Regions from separate parts of the Homo sapiens genome. Here all the other regions are linked to region 1. The links are contacts of gene promoters, found by promoter capture Hi-C in human tissues and cell types (Jung and others, 2019). All regions are on one chromosome and are shown on one strand. Each heading gives the region's core, a stretch centred on a gene start or on the middle of the fragment in contact. The rest is flanking DNA. Distances are from core to core; before and after follow the strand shown.

Evidence for each region. The method cuts DNA at HindIII sites, captures the fragments that hold promoters and counts their contacts. A contact is called where the count stands out against the background at its distance.
Region 2: a contact is called between the fragment with the promoter of SLC17A7 here and a fragment that was not itself captured in region 1, in 1 of the 25 tissues and cell types used here (dorsolateral prefrontal cortex).
Region 3: the fragment with the promoter of SCAF1 here is called in contact with a fragment that was not itself captured in region 1 in 1 of the 25 tissues and cell types used here (mesenchymal stem cells).

What each region holds. Positions count from the first base shown.
Region 1 is chr19:48,726,435-48,729,952 of GRCh38, reverse strand. RASIP1 (Ras interacting protein 1) reads left to right here. Exons shown (of 12, transcript NM_017805.3): 5 at 363-1,016; 6 at 2,523-2,560; 7 at 2,795-2,946; 8 at 3,065-3,168. LOC124904737 (a long non-coding RNA gene) reads right to left here and starts at 1,809. Exons shown (of 2, transcript XR_007067286.1): 1 at 1,585-1,809. The HindIII fragment of the contact is 9,581 bases long and covers 1-3,518 here.
Region 2 is chr19:49,439,379-49,442,923 of GRCh38, reverse strand. SLC17A7 (solute carrier family 17 member 7) reads left to right here and starts at 1,397. Exons shown (of 12, transcript NM_020309.4): 1 at 1,397-1,606. The coding sequence starts at 1,545. The HindIII fragment of the contact is 22,755 bases long and covers 1-3,545 here.
Region 3 is chr19:49,640,154-49,643,490 of GRCh38, reverse strand. SCAF1 (SR-related CTD associated factor 1) reads right to left here and starts at 1,282. Exons shown (of 11, transcript NM_021228.3): 1 at 1,249-1,282. RefSeq lists silencers at 1,072-1,361, 3,222-3,337 and enhancers at 1,392-1,741, 1,852-1,951, 1,492-2,161, 2,162-2,831, 2,832-3,337. The HindIII fragment of the contact is 1,761 bases long and covers 1-1,336 here.

The DNA.
Region 1 (3,518 bases), core at 135-2,634:
ACCTGAGATCAGGAGTTTAAGACCAGCCTGGCCAACATGGTGAAACCCTTTCCCTACTAAAAATACAAAAATTAGCCGGGTGTGGTGGCAGGCGCCTGTACTCCCAGCTACTCAACAGACTGAGGCAGGAGAATTGCTTGAACTCAGGAGGCAGAGGTTGCAGTGAGCCGAGATCGTGCCACTGGACTCCAGCCTGGAGGACAGAGCGAGACTCCATCTCAAAAAAAAAAAAAAAAAAAAAAAGAAGAAGAAGGAAAAAAAAAGTTGGTGGGAATAGAAAAGTTGTTGTAGAAAACAGAGAGAACAGATCTGAAGATATGGATTGAAGTGATGTCCTTAGTGCATCCTCGTTTCCCCTCCAGGACTTTGTGGTGTATGTGATGACGCGAGAGCAGCACGTGTTTGGGCGAGGTGGGAACTCGTCTGGCCGCGGGGGGTCCCCGGCTCCCTATGTGGACACCTTCCTCAACGCCCCGGACATCCTGCCGCGTCACTGCACAGTGCGCGCGGGCCCTGAGCACCCGGCCATGGTGCGCCCGTCCCGGGGCGCCCCAGTCACGCACAACGGGTGCCTCCTGCTGCGGGAGGCTGAGCTGCACCCGGGCGACCTCCTGGGGCTGGGCGAGCACTTCCTGTTCATGTACAAGGACCCCCGCACTGGGGGCTCGGGGCCTGCGAGGCCGCCGTGGCTGCCCGCGCGCCCCGGGGCCACGCCGCCAGGCCCTGGCTGGGCCTTCTCCTGTCGCCTGTGCGGCCGCGGCCTGCAGGAGCGCGGCGAGGCACTGGCCGCCTACCTGGACGGCCGTGAGCCAGTCCTGCGCTTCCGGCCGCGCGAGGAGGAGGCGCTGCTGGGCGAGATCGTGCGCGCCGCAGCCGCCGGCTCGGGAGACCTGCCGCCCCTCGGGCCCGCCACGCTGCTGGCGCTGTGCGTGCAGCATTCCGCCCGTGAGCTGGAGCTGGGCCACCTGCCACGACTGCTGGGCCGCCTGGCCCGGCTCATCAAGGAGGCCGTCTGGGTGAGCGCCCCCCAATCGCCGTCCAGCCCCACCAGCGCCCCAAGTCCCTTCTCCAGCCTCCCTTCCCTACCTTCAACCCTTTTCATAGCTGGGCTGGATACTACTGTTCCCATGACGCCTCGGGAAGGATTTGGGGTTTTGGGTTTTGTTTGTTTGTTTGTTTGCTTTTGTTTTTGAGACGGAGTCTCGCTCTGTTACCCAGGCTGGAGTGCAGTGGCGGTCTTGGTTCACTGCAACCTCTACCTCCGGGGTTCAAATGATTCTTCTGCCTCAGCCTCCCGAGTAGCTGGGATTGCAGGCGCCTGCCAGCACGCCCGGCTAATTTTTTGTATTTTTAGTAAGACGGGGTTTCACCATATTGGCCAGGCTTGTCTGGAACTCCTGACCTCGTGGTTCGCCCGCCTCGGCCTCCCAAAGTGCTGGGATTACAGGTGTGAGCCACCACACCCGGTGTTTTGGGGTTATTAAGCAAGGGGCCCCCCCATAGAATGCTGGGAGATGTAGATCCACTGCACTTAGAGGGAAGCCCAAACTCACCTTAGGAGAGCTCACCTAAGCACGAACTCACCTTAGGAAGAAACCATTATGGGAGATGGTGGGGGAGAGATCCCACTGGATGAGAAGTTGACAGAGATCAGTGTGAGAATTCACCGCAGCCCATTGGGCTTGGAGCTTGGATAGCAGTGAGCGAGTTCATTCTTGGAGGCGAGGAAGCACAAATCCACTGGACCTACAGATGGAAGTTCCAGAAAGAAACCATTCAGAGTGGGGGAAACGTTCCATCCTATTGAGCTAGGGCCTAACCAGAGAGGTTTAAGGAGTTTCTTGGGGGTAAAAATTGGAGAAGAGGACCTGAAGGAGCTAGATCACTCATAATCATAGGGTGTGTATGTTTTAAAAAGTAAGGAGAGACCATTCTAAAGCTTGTGGGATTAGAATTTGTCTCAAGAGCCAGGCGTGGTGGCTCATGCCTGTAATCCCGGCACTTTGGGAGGCCGAGGCGGGCAGATCACCTGAAGTCGGGAGATCGAGACCATCCTGGCTAACATGGTGAAACCCCGTCTCTACTAAAAATGCAAAAAATTAGCCGGGCATGGTAGCACATGCCTGTAATCCCAGCTACTTGGGAGGCTGAGGCAGGAGAATCACTTGAACCTGGGAGGCAGAGGTTGCAGTGAGCCAAAATTGAGCCATTGCACCCCAGCCTGGGCAACAACAGGGTAACTCCATCTCAAAAAAAAAAAAAAAAAAAAAGAATCCGTATGAAGAGTGAAGGCCGGTTGCAGTGGCTCATGCCTGTAATCCTAGTTCTTTGGGAGGCCAAGGTGGGAGGATCATTTGAGCTCAGGAGTTGGAGACCACCGGTGGCAACATAGTAAGACCCCATCTCTAAGAAAAGTAGGACCAGTCTCTATGAGAGTTGTGCTTCTATAAAAACCAGGGTATTAACTCTTAAGCCCCTCAGTGGATCCCCCTCACCTTGATTCTGATCTTACTGTTCCACAGGAAAAGATTAAGGAAATTGGAGACCGTCAGCCAGAAAAGTAAGAGAAATTCTGAGCAGAGTGGTCTGGAGGGATGCAGGGGTTGGGTTTTGCGTCTAGTTCTGTGTTCACCCCATGCATGCCCCAGTGCAAGTTTCTGCTTCTCCTTGCGCTCAACTTTTCCAGCTGCGCAATGGGAGTTGGTCTTGCTCTCCCACTTAGACTTAGATCTTGGGGTTTGTAAACTATGATGAGGGTTGGGCAGGGATCACAAATTCCTTCCTCTTTTTCAAGCCACCCTGAGGGGGTCCCCGAGGTGCCCCTGACTCCTGAAGCTGTGTCTGTGGAGCTGCGGCCACTCATGCTGTGGATGGCCAACACCACGGAGCTGCTTAGCTTTGTGCAGGAGAAGGTGCTGGAAATGGAGAAGGAGGCTGACCAAGAGGGTGAGCTCTGACTCAGGCTCAGGCTTGTCCAAGTCTCCCATCATGCCCTGCACCTGGGGACCTGGGCTCCTGGCTGCCGACTTCTGGTTCTCCCTCTTAACCCCAAGCCTGTCCTCAGACCCACAGCTCTGCAATGACTTGGAATTATGTGATGAGGCCATGGCCCTCCTGGATGAGGTCATCATGTGTACCTTCCAGCAGTCTGTCTACTACCTCACCAAGGTTGGCCCTTGCCTCTTACTTCCTGTTTGACATAGCATCACTTCCTGTTTCACGTAATATCACTTCCTGTTTGTGGTAACATCACTTCTTGTTTGAACTACACTGTGTGGCTCTGATGTCACTATTTGACTCAAGATTTTCTGCTTTTCTCTGACATGACATCCCATCTCACCCAAGGACTTTGCTGTTCTGACACCACTTGTTAGAGCTTACATCACTTCCTGCCTTTCTGGCTTCTTTTCCTTTGTAATCATCACCTGGGCAAACGCGGTGGCTCACATCTGTAATCCCGGCACTTTGGGAGGTCAAGGCGGGTGGATCACTTGAGGTCAGGAGTTTGAGAGCAGCCT
Region 2 (3,545 bases), core at 148-2,647, 710 kb before region 1:
GATTCCGGGGGCGGAGGCAGGACTGGGAGGTCGAGGACAGATCCCAGTGGCGAGGGTCAGAAGTCGGAGGGCGGGGACAGATCCCATGGGGCCGGGGCAAGACTGGGAGGGTAGGGAGAGATCCAGGGGGCGGGGAGAACTGGGTGGGCGGGGACAGATCCCATGGGGCAGGGGTAGAACACAGAGGGCGGGGACAGATCCCAGGGACGGAGGCCAGAACTCGGTGGGTGGGGACAGATTCCAGGGGGCAGAGATAGATCCTGTGGGGAAGGGGTAGAACTCAGATGGCAGGAACAGATTCCAGGGGGCAAGGACAGAACTGAGAGGGCGGGAACAGAGCCAGGGACAGATCCTAGGAGAAGGGGACACAACTCCAACGGTGGGGAGAGAACTCAGAGGGCGGGGGCAGAACTCAGGTCAGCGACAGATCCTAGGGGAGGAGACAAATTCAGAGGGCGGGTGAGGATGCCAGGGGGTGCGGATCACAATTTAGGGGGCGGGACAGATCTCAGGGGGTGGAGACAGAACTCAAATAGAGGAATGGATCCCCCGGAGCTAGGGAAGAACTCAGAGCGCGGACAGATCCCAGAGGAGCAGAGAAATAACACAATGGGGAGACTATGGGGTCGCAGCTGGCACTGGCGGGGTGTGTGAAATATAACTGTGGGGGGCGGAAGCCAGAGGGAAGAAAATCGGGGTTAGGGAATGAAACTCAGGGAGAGAAGCAACAGGGAGGAGAGAGACGCCGGAGGGAGAATAGAGCTGGAGGAGTATGGGATTCAAAGGGGAAAGATGGAAACTAAGGAGGAGATGGAGCTCAAGGGTGAAGAACCCGGGTGGCGAAAGGGACTAGAGGGGGACGACAGGTGGATCGAAGTAGGCGTTGGACTTGAGGGGAAAGAATTTCCCTTGAATGAGAAAACAAAGAACTCCCTGGATGAGACTATTGGAACTGGGGACGAGGTGGGATGGGGATGGAATTGCGGGGTGGGGGCGGGGAGGAGTGAAGGAACTGGAGGATGAACGCAGAGGGAAAGTCAGAGAAGACAGGATTGTAAGGGACGCAATTAGGGGGAACAGAAGTCGGGGAGAGAAATGATGGGGATGAGAACTCAGGAGAGGAGAGAAAATCTGGGTAGGAGCCAGGGGTGATGGAACAGGGATAGGGGGAGTAGCCTGGGGAAGGAACAGAATTGGGGGGCGTGAACTCGGAGGCGTGAGTTCAGAACCCACAGGCGTGGTCTTGGAAGGCTCAGGAGGGGACAGGACGAGGATGAAAGGGCTGCGAGAGGGGGCGGGTCTGACAGACGAGGGGAGGGGCCTGGTGGGGCCGGGGCGGGGCCTCCCGCGCCCCGCCCCCGGCGCTGAGTCCTGTGACAGCCCCCGGGCCGCCTGCACTTGCAGCCTCCTTCCCCCCGAGCGGAGCTGCGGGGCCGGCCGGGCCGGGGCTGGACCCCGGGAACCCGGACGCGGCCGCCCGGGCCCGCGGGCGGGGGGATCGGCGGGGGGGACCCGCGGGGTGACCGGCGGCAGGAGCCGCCACCATGGAGTTCCGCCAGGAGGAGTTTCGGAAGCTAGCGGGTCGTGCTCTCGGGAAGCTGCACCGGTGAGCCTGGCGGGGGTCCCGGGAGAAGAGTGGGAGGATCTGAGGAGGATGCTAATTCCCACCTGGGCGCAGACTGACAGATGAACGGGCGATACCCCGGCATGGGGGTCCACCCATCTGTCCAGTTTTCTGCCGTGGGCTCCGACGGCGCTGTTCTCCCTGGTCGAGCCTTGTCCATTATCCTGTTCCTTTTTCTGCACCCCACCCCACCCGGCTCCACTCTCTCTGGTGCTGTAAATGCCTCTCTCCCGGGTCTCTGGCTCCTCCCCCACCACTTCTGGGTCTCTGTCCCCGTCTCTTTCTGGATGTCTCTGCCCCTTTTCTCTCTGGGTCTCCGTCTCCCTCTTTTTCCAGATCTCGGCTCCCTTCTCTCTGGGCCCCTCCTTCTCCCTAGATCTCTGCCTCCGCTTCTTTGCGTCTCTGTGCCCCTCTCTCTGGTTCTCTGGCCATTGCTCTCACTGGATCTCTATCAACTCCTGACTCAGAGTCTCTGTCCCCCTCTTTCTGGGTCTCTCCTCTTCCCTGGATCTCTGGTCCCCACTTCTCTGGGTCCCTGTCCCCGTCTCTGTGTTTTAATTCTCCCACCATGGGTCTCTCCGTCTCTCTGTGTCTTTTTCCGTTTCTGTCTGGCATGGAGTTTAATCTGCAGCTAAAGCGGATTGGGGCTCATAGCCCGTTGTCCTTGAGGGGGTGAGGCTGGGTGGAAGAAGTCACAGCACCCTGGGTCCCTGGGAGAGAAAGGAGTTAGAGGCCAAAAATTTCGGCTCCTGGGGTAGGACAGCCTTCCCAAAGGATACAGGCTGGGGCTGACAGGGACTCCCTCCCAACCAGGTTGATGACCCCAGTGAACCGAGTGTCCCTCAGGATAATCTGGACACCTCCCCACAGGCTCTCACCCCCAACCCCAGCTTTGGCTCTAAGTCAGATAAATTACTCAGCTGCGGAAAAGCCTAAAAATATATCTGGCCACAGTGCACGAAGGAGATGGCCTCATCAGCACCATGCCCCTGCCGCCGTGCCCTCAGGCCCTGTCCCCTTGGCCCACAGCCCTGACCCTGTGTTTCGCTGAGCTTCAGTCCACCTCGCTAGGCCATGGGGGTCCTTTGCTAAGTCTAACATCAGTCTTGCTTGCTGCAGATCACCTCTTAGCTCCAAAGTTACCCCACCCTCTAGTAACATGAGAGACAAGAATAAGGCTGGACAGAAGTGGGGGGAGGTGGGCAGGAGGATGGTGCAGTGACGGAGGTTGGTGGTGGAGGGGAAGCTGAGATAACCTCACCCCTTCTTTTTCCAATTTTCCAGCCCCTCCCCACCCTTTTTCTCGCCTCCTTTCACGAGTTTCTCAAAATACATCAGTGTGAAGTCAGGAGAATGAGAGAGAGAGAAAGAGACGTGCTGGTGGAGGGGGCTGGGGGGTGGCAGCGGGAGGGATGTATTCCTCAGGCCCCTCCCTCAGTCTCTGCCTCTGTTTCTCATCTGTGCTAGGGTTTCTCACAGTCAATCTCTCTGGCTCTCACTCTCTGAGTTACCTCTTGGGTCCCCAGAGACCCCCGGGCTCTGGCCAGGACCATCAGCAGGGAGTTTGTGCAGAGAAAAGCATTTGCTTCCAATGCCTGGGGTTTGCTCTGATGGTTGGAGGGAGAGGGGAATACCCCATATTAGAGACAACAGGTTGATCTCATTTAATCCTCTAGACAAAGATGGGGAAACTGAGGCTCCATTCTGGGGTTGGGGAGATCAGTGGATGAGTATGAGCCCCATGATTTGAACCCAGGTCAGTCTCCCTCCCAAGCCTAGAACAGAGCTCTTCCTTGAGAAGAGTGATGCCACAGCTGGTGGGGAGCTTCCTTGCACCCAGGGTGACTTGGAACAAGGACATGGGGGAATGGGATGCCAGAGAGATGAGAACCCAAGGTGCCTCCTTTCTGAGAGCCAGGTC
Region 3 (3,337 bases), core at 33-2,532, 910 kb before region 1:
ACAGGGTCATATACCAGTTTAGTGCTTCACAAATAGCTTGTTTTAAAAAGTAAATAGAACAAAATAGTTCTTCACAGCACAGCACAAGTAGTAAGTGGAAATGTCAATTCGTGGAAGGTGAGTTAATGTTAATACATTATGTTATATAATGTTAAATACATTATGACTGTCTGTACCAGGTCTCAATGAAAAAATGTATCTTAATGCAGATCACGGTCAACATGGCCCAGGTTTCCCCTTGAAAAGCACTGTAATAGTGGGTCTAGATGACCCTCCAGACTCTTCCAGACTAATGTAGATTAATTCTAACTCTCTCAATAACCCCCAGGGTAATGCAGAATCTTAAAACATTTTTCATTTGAATTACTGTCTGAAGGGCAAGTATATCTAAGCTGGGCAAAATTTCCTCATTCTCTTTCCGTATTATTATTCGCCACAAGCTGCTCTGACCCCAAAGGCATTCGAATTTGCTCCAGGCATCAAAACTGCATTCCTGCAGTCACATTAAAGCCATCTAGATGGTTCCAGGTCCTTCTAACTGCCCCCAGCCTCCTGTCACCCATTATTAGACACTACCCATACCTTGGAGACCCCAGACCCTCAGTACATCTCAATATTTGGCGCCCTTCCCTGGTGGGCATAACCCAACCCCCTAGGGGGCCCTAAATGACTTCTTAGCCCTTGAACACTCCTTCTAGGCCTGATAAATGGCCCCAGACTTATGCAGACCAGTTGCATCCTCAGGCCAGCCCATGCAGACACTTTCCAGCCCTAAAAGACATACCCCAGGCCTCTAGATGGCTCTGAAGATACTCTTCAGGTCTTGCAGACCCTCCTTCACCCCTGGGACATATCTCAAGATCTCAAGATGGCCCCAGAACCCTCTAACCAGACCCTAGCCTCCGGTCAGCCCAAAAAGACAATCTACAGTGTCTACAGACACGATCCAGGCCAGCTGTGTGATGGAGGGCAGGCCTTAGGCTCGGTCTAGGCCCAGAGACGCCCCAAGTCCTCTCGGAGACGCCCCATAGACGCCCCCAGGAACCCACGGATGCGTCCCGGGGCCCTGAGAAGGCCCCCCTCTCGGCGCCAGGTTTCGCCGCAGCTGCCGGGCCCGAGACCGCCCCGAGAAGCCCTCTAGGACCCGTGGCTTGTGGGGAGGACCCCGGGACAACTAGCGACCCAACTCCGCCCCGCCCACCCCAATAGGCCCGAGCCCCGCGGCCCGGACTGCCGCCGCCATCTTACCCCGCCGCTCGGGCTGCGGCTCCGGCCCCGGCGCGGGGCGGGGCGGGCTGGGGCGGGGTTCGTGAGCAAAGGAGGAGAGAGGCGGAGCTAAAGCGCCGCCGAGCTTGCCGGGATTTCAAGTACCGAGCACGGCGACGTGAAGGCCGGCGGGAAGGCAACCGCACTCGGTTTCCCAGAAGCCAATGGGACACATGGGGCGGGGTCCGCGCGATGCACGCCGGGAGGCGTAGTCCGCGCACCGCCTCTGTCGCGCGGGGACAGCTAATGGGGTGAGAGGTGAAGTGGGCGGGGCCGCGGTAGCCCGCGATGACGCCCCACAGTGCCCTGCGCGCGCGCGGAAAGGGTGGCGGAACAGGAGGTGACGTAAGAGGCGCCAGGCAGAACAGACGCAAGGGAATTGTAGTCCGGCGGAGTGAGCACGACTTGCTGGATGTTGTGCTGCCCACATTCTGGGGCTCTCAGAATCCAGATCCTCTAGGCCCCCCTAAATTTAGAACCAGACGGGATGCAGTGGCGCACACCGTAGTCCCACTCGGGAGACTGAGGCGGAAGGATGGCTTGAGCCTAGAAGTTAGAAGCCAGCCTAGGCAATATAGGGAGACCCCGCCTCTAAAAAAATAAAAATAGGCCAGGCGCGGTGGCTCACGTCTGTAATCCCAGCACTTTGGGAGGCCGAAGCAGGCGGATCATCTGATATCAGGAGTTCAAGACCAGCCTGACCAACATGGTGAAACCCAGTCTCTACTAAAAATACAAAAATTAGCCTGGCGTGGTGGCTAACGCCTGTAATCCCAGCTACTCGGGAGGCTGAGGTAGGAGAATCGCTTGAACCCGGGAAGCGGAGGTTGCAGTGGGCCAAGATCGCGCCATTGCACTCCAGCATGGGCTACAAGACGGAAACTCCGTCTCAAAAATAAACAAATAAAAATAAACTTAGAACCTAGAAGCCCGACCCCATAGCCGCCTCGTTCAGTACAGAGAAGTCTGAATTCCGAATCCTCTCACTCAGAGCAGTGTCCAGACTCCTATTTCCCTCCTCCCTCCGACTCAGGAGTCTGATTCTTCCTTCCTCGGATCCAAGAGTCGGTCTCCCAGACTAGTCCTGGTCTCAAGCTCTCACATACGAATTCGGGTCCCCCCAAGCCAGTGCCCTCGCTCGGATCCAGAATCCTGGGTCCCCAGCCTCTCCAATTCCTGGACCTAAGAGTCCAGGCCCCCGGCTCCCTCCTTTACCGAACCTAGTACGAAGGAACCTGTCTACCTTCCTCCCTGACACCCTCCTCCCCAGGACCCAGGAGTCCACATCTCCAGCCCCATTTTCTCCTAAGGACCCAGGAGTCTGGGCCCTCTGCTTCCTTCTCCTTCAAGACCCAGAAATCCTGGCCCCAGGCTCTTCATGACCCAGGCATCCCTACTTGGGCGAGCTGGCTCATGGATTAGGAATGCAGTGATCTCACGGCCCCTCCCTGCCCCGTTACCCTGCTGTCCCCCTCTAGGGCCCCACTCTCCTCCCAGTCTGTCTTCCGCTTGGCTGGGACAGCGGGAACCGGAAGCCTGGGTCCCTTAGCGGGCGGAGACTCTAGCTTCTAACCCAGACGCCGGGGTCGAAAGCTTGGCTAGGATCCCAGGAGGGAGGTGGAGCTACTCCTCAAAACCTGCTGCTTCCTCGGAGCGCCCTATATACGGCCGCGCGCGCGAGTCGACGAGCTCCGCCTACCATACTAAGGCCTCGGAGACGATGCCCCAAGCAGCAGTGTCACAGGGGTCCTTATTTGCATAGCCCCTCCCCTGAGGAACTTTCCGCCCCGTCTGCTGAAAGAATAAATTCTTATTAGCATAGCCACGCCCACAGACCGCCCTCCCGCTGAGAGCGCGTGGCGCCGCTCAGGGCAAAGCACAGGTCTCTCATTAGCATAGCCCCGCCTCATTCGGAATTCCCCTTCGCAGCGAACGCCGTTCCCTTTCCCTTATTAACATAGCTCCTCCCTTTCTTTGGCCCGTCCCCCTCCTTAAGTGTCCGGAGACGCGAGCCCTCCTTGCCAGAGCTCATGATTATGCAGTAGCCTCATTAGCGTAGCCCGCCCCCCCG